2 separate regions of the Homo sapiens genome follow, and region 1 is linked to region 2. The links are contacts of gene promoters, found by promoter capture Hi-C in human tissues and cell types (Jung and others, 2019). All regions are on one chromosome and are shown on one strand. Each heading gives the region's core, a stretch centred on a gene start or on the middle of the fragment in contact. The rest is flanking DNA. Distances are from core to core; before and after follow the strand shown. Region 1 holds the start of SOD3 (superoxide dismutase 3). Region 2 holds the start of LGI2 (leucine rich repeat LGI family member 2).

Evidence for each region. The method cuts DNA at HindIII sites, captures the fragments that hold promoters and counts their contacts. A contact is called where the count stands out against the background at its distance.
Region 1: a fragment that was not itself captured here is called in contact with the fragment with the promoter of LGI2 in region 2 in 2 of the 25 tissues and cell types used here (H1 embryonic stem cells and mesenchymal stem cells).

What each region holds. Positions count from the first base shown.
Region 1 is chr4:24,794,180-24,796,879 of GRCh38, forward strand. It overlaps SOD3 (superoxide dismutase 3), which reads left to right and starts at 1,394. Exons shown (of 2, transcript NM_003102.4): 1 at 1,394-1,472. The HindIII fragment of the contact is 6,648 bases long and covers 1-2,700 here.
Region 2 is chr4:25,029,535-25,032,234 of GRCh38, forward strand. It overlaps LGI2 (leucine rich repeat LGI family member 2), which reads right to left and starts at 1,412. Exons shown (of 8, transcript NM_018176.4): 1 at 963-1,412. The coding sequence starts at 1,159. LOC124900684 (a long non-coding RNA gene) reads left to right here and starts at 574. Exons shown (of 2, transcript XR_007058083.1): 1 at 574-699. The HindIII fragment of the contact is 9,452 bases long and covers 1-2,700 here.

The sequences.
Region 1 (2,700 bases), core at 61-2,560, 240 kb before region 2:
CTGAAAACTCATTAGTTGAGGATAACTACGCCTACCAACAGAATGCAGAGGTGCAAGACTGAGCTACTGGTGCCTGAGTTCTCAGCGGGCCAGAAGGAAGGACGGTAGGGTGGAAGGGCTGGAGTCTCAGTTCTGGGAAGTCTCCCTCTTATCTCGCAGAATGCCTGTCCCTGGATAAAGATCATTAGTTTGAGTTTTTCCAAGATGATTCTAGGAAGCTCCTGCTGGTAACTAAGTCACCCATCCTGGGGTGGGATCCAGAGATTTAGATTTTTTATAAGCTTTCCTGCCACCGAAACGGGTGTTTGGGACCTCACGAGGCCCTGTTCATTCTTCGTCGCTGCGCTCCCCACTCTGTACTGGATGCATTTACTGACGTTGTTGTCTCCGTCCCCAGAGTATGAACCCCCAAGGTGACTCATGCAGCTGTGGGTGCCCGGCATACAGCATGGTGACTGGAATGGATGAGCACCCAATAAACATTTGTTGCAGGAATGCAGGAGGACGGGCAGGCCAGCAAGCAGGCTGCCTGGTTTTTCCCACATGGGCTTTTCTGGGAAAGAAGAGCTTCTATTTTTGGAAAGGGCTGCTATGATTGAGAAAAGTTCATGGCAGCAAAAAAAGGACAGACGTCGGGAGGGAAACACTCCTAGTTCTCCCAGACAACACATTTTTTAAAAAGACTCCTTCATCTCTTTAATAATAACGGTAACGACAATGACAATGATGATTACTTATGAGTGCGGCTAGTGCCAGCCACTGTGTTGTCACTGGGCGAGTAATGATCTCATTGGATCTTCACGGTGGGCGTGCGGGGTGGACAGCCTCACACCCCCATTTTACAGATGATGAAAAGGAGGTGCAGGGAGTGGTGCAGCTGCTTCAGGCGTACACAGATAGGAAGTGACAAGGCTGGGACTCTGCAGCCTGAGTGTGTCATCACGACCCACCCGCTGCTCTGCTCTCATAGGTATGACAGCACAGCTCTGGAGCAAATGCCACGCACATTTGCAAGGTGCCCATTTCCATGCAGCAAAAATAAGTCAATAAGTTATTGACTTACAGAAAAGCAAAGGGCCTCTCAATAAAGAGGTCATTGTACACCTCTCCAAACAGGCGATTTTCTTTCTCATTTTTATTCCCCTGCTGTGTGCTGAAGGTCACTGGCTACAAGCCGGTGAAGTCGCGGAATGGAATCCTTGGCCCGAAAACCCAAAAATGGGAGGGGCAGAGGAGGTGGGGACAGAGCGGGAGGAGGTGGAGGCGAAGCAATTCTACAACCCGGGGAGGTCTGGCCTGCTTTTCCTCCCTGAACTGGCCCAATGACTGGCTCCCTCACGCTGACCACTCCTCTGGGCTGGCCTCCTGCACTCGCGCTAACAGCCCAGGCTCCAGGGACAGCCTGCGTTCCTGGGCTGGCTGGGTGCAGCTCTCTTTTCAGGAGAGAAAGCTCTCTTGGAGGAGCTGGAAAGGTGGGTGCTAAGTTGAGGTTCATTTTGTTCTTCTCGGAGTGTGCTTATTGAGTCTGAAGCTGGGTTGGGGCAACGGGCCTCTTCTTGGGAACAAATTGGATCATCTTCTTGGGAAGGAAATGTACTTTCCCTGGCTGCTCTGAGGGGTTAGTGGGGAGGTGGAGTGAGCGGGGAGGAAGGCAAGGAGGGGAGGAAGAAACCGTTCCTCCTGTGGATCTGCAAAGACCAGTCCAAGAGGATTTTAGTGTTAGGAAAAGGAATCTGGAGTGACGAGAAAGGGGGCCTTTCTAGATGTTGCATGGCTTTGGTGTCGGGAGCCACTTATGGGACAGCAGGTACTCTAAAAAGCCACCTCCTTAGGAAAGCAGAGAGGCCCTGGCCAGCTCAGGCTCCCAGCAAGAGCTCCTTCTAGGAGACAGCTGAGGGATGAAACACACCCAAGGCTCAAGAGGGGCAGGTTCTTCCCAGATACAGACCCAGGAAGGAGATAAAGGCTTGGTGCCTCTATTTGGTTCAGGATAAGGGCCCCTGTCCTCTTTCTCTGATAACACTGTCCTCTTTCTCTGATAACACCGTCCTCCCTTCCAGATCCACGTACAAAGGAGGCCCTTAAAAAGGCACTTGGTCATTCACAGCTCAAACTGAGCAAGAGGCTGTGGGAGAAGAATCAAGTTGGTCCCGAGGGGAAGAGGTGTCAAAGGCTTAAGAAACAAGAAGTCAGAGTTTACCTGGGTTTGAGGGAGAATTTTCTTTCCCCCTTTTCCTCCTCCTCCTCCTTCTTCTCTTTTTTTTTTTTTTTTTTTTTTTTTTGAGACATGGTCTCATTCTGTCACCCAGCACCCAGGCTGGAATGTAGTGGCACGATCACTATCACGGCTCACTACAGCCTCTACCTCCCGGGCTCAAGCGATCCTCCTACCTCAACCTCCTGAGTAACTGGGACTACAGGCACATGCCACCACACCCAGCTATTTTTTTTTTTTTTTTTTGCTAGAGATGGGGGTCTCTACCAGGTTGGTCTCATACTCTTGTACTCAAATGATTCTCCTGTCTCATCCTCCCAAAGGGGTGGGATTACAGGCATAAGCCACCATGCCTGGCTCTTCTTTTGGTTTCAGAGAAAAACATCTCCTTAAAATGTTTATTTCCCAAGGATTCTTGAAAAAGAAAGCTCACTGACACACCCAAAACAATCTGGTTTTGCTCTGTGCTTTTAGGGAGAACTTTC
Region 2 (2,700 bases), core at 162-2,661:
GGAACAAGAGAGTGGTCTTAGCAGGAAACATGTCCTAGCAGTAAAGATACAGCCCAACAGCCCCTTCCACCGCCCTTGTGAGAGCTGGTCATTTGGCTTGAGTGGCCAGGTGAGGGCAGGATGAAAGCACCTCTCGGCAGGTGGATACCTAATGTGAAGCCCTTTCCTGTCAGTTCCTCCTGCTGAAAAAGCAGCCAACACAACTGTGTGATGGAGAAAGGGGGCAAGAAGCCCTCCTGACCTCAGGGCAAGAAGGCTGACTTCAAAGCACTTGGCCACTGGGCTAGGCGCCCAACATGCCCCAAACCTCTGCCCAGCCTTCTGTTACCCCTCTTCTAGGCCACGGGGGGCGGCCCCTCCCCTCCCAGAGCCTGCATGCCTTGACCTCGACTTTTTGCAACCTGCAATGTGGAGAAGTCGGGAGGAGGCCACGGGGTGAACATTCGCCCCAGACCTGATGTGGGGCAGTGAGGCCTCACCCTGCCCAGTTTGCACTCAGTCAGGTCGTGTTCAGCTGCTCCTATGCACGCCCCTACACACACAACTCCAACCCGCAAACACACACACACACACGCACACGCCCTCTCAAACTTTAATGCACCCTTGAGTCTCCCGGGGACGTCAAACGCACACTCCAGGACTCCACTCCAAAGACTGCTTCAGAGCAGCTGGATTCTGCATTGGCACAAGCTTCCCCAGGTGAGTCTGATGCAGGTGGCCCGTGGGCCACACTCTGAGAAACGCTGCCACAGGAACCTGTCTGGGTTCCCAGATTCTGGGGCTCAGGTCCTCACCGTCCTCCCCGGGGGCCAACACTCCACCCACGTCCCCCACACAAAGGCAAAGAAGGGGCCTGGGGAGTGGGTCAGGGTCGCGCTGGCCCGGCGCCAGAGGCAACTCCCTCGCGGCGGCGGACGCAGGGTGGGGCGGGACGGGATGGGGGCTGGAGGGGTCCCACTCACAGGGAGCTGATGTCGCCCGGCACGATCCTGGGCACCCAGGAAGAGCCCACGCAGATGATAGACTCCTTGGTACAGCTGCAAGTGGCGGGGCAGCGCGCCAGCCGCCTCACCTGCGCGCTCCGCGGTATCAGGCACGCGGCGCCCAGCAGCAGCAGCAGCAGCCCGAGCGCTCCGCAGCCGCCTCTCCGCAGCGCCATGCCCGGTCCCCGCTCCCCGCCCGGGCCCCGACCCCCACCGCCGCGCCGCGCGCTCGGACCCGGCGCCGCTGCAGACGCGGGCGCCGCTCGCTGCTCTGCCGCCGCCGCTGCTGGCGAGGACTAGGGAGCCGCGGGTGTGGGAGGCCGAGCCGCAGCCGAGCAGCATGCTGGCCGCCACCCCCACTCGGCGCCCCCCCACCCGAGCCCGGGCTGCTGGGCGGCCGCCGCCGCTGCGCCCGCCGCACTCGCGCCTGCCTGACATCAGCACTCGCGCCCGCAGCCCGGCTCTGGCCAATGAATAATGCATGGCGGGGCCCGCCCCGCGGGGGAGGGGGCCAGCGCCGGCCCCGTGGCGCCCCACCCGGCCCCCACCTCGCCACCCCCTCTCGCCCCGGGCCGGGCGCGGGGACAGAGGGAAAAGTTGGGTGACCTTGGGGGAGGGGCCAAGCCTGGCGGAGACCCCCGTCGGGGCCTGACTGAGCGGTGGAGGATCCGATGCCTGCAATACCTCCAGGGGTATAATCTGGGGAGGGCACTGGGTTCCTTTCAGGCAAATCAATAAAGTCGGAGCGGGGAGTGTGGAGAACCGGCTTGATTACTGGGGAGGGAGGCAGCCCTGGGTGCTTTGAAGAGGAGAGACTTTGGAGCAGCCTTTATTAATTTTGAAGTGCATGCTGCCGGTAGGGTCAGCGAGGATGGCTTTGCTTGTCTTCTGCGGTGGGGCAGTGAGGTCTGGCTCTCGCTCCCACAGCACCAGGGGTTACTGAAGCCAGCCAGTCCTCCCATGGGAGGAACGTGGGGAAGCAAAGCCGCTGCAGCCTGCACGCCCGGCGCTCTGGGCCCTGCCTGCTGCCTGCTAAAGAGCTGGAAAGCCCGGGAAAGTTTCCCCTCGCTCAGCTGCCCACGGGTCACCCCACCCGCCCCAGTCAGAGGAGGGTTTGTAGAGATTGAGGGTGTGATACATTCTAGCCACTGTACTTTTAATCTTCTAACCTTTTGAGGCAGGTCCTACTTATATCCTTAATTTATTGATGAGGCTGCTGACGCCCAGAAAGCATCCTGACTGGCTGATGGTCCAGCAGCTCCTGGCTGGGCAGGATGGGGCTCGGAGCCTTGAAGGGCTACCTTAACTGGGCCCTCCTGAGCCCCTCTTCAACTCCTTAAGTTTGAAGCAATGAGCGGAAATCTTAACACAGGTAATGTGCGGCTGAGGAAATCAAAGAAAATGACCAAAGCGGAAACAAAGTAATGGCTAATAACCTGAACTGCTGGGAGAAGGGAATCACAGCACGACTGTCGAGCTGCAAACCAAGGAAAAGCATGCCAGATGCTAAAACCTACTCAGAAAAGTCAGTATCGAATGCAAAAGTAGGAATCATACTATTGCTTCTTCAGCAATTATTGTTGGTGATCCATTGACAAGATCCATGAGGACGGTATCAGGCTGGCTGCTGTGGGAGGGAACAAAGGAACAGCTCCTGTCCTCAGGGAGCTAAAAGTCTAGCTGGACAGACAACCCTAAAAGAGCAACTCCACTGGCT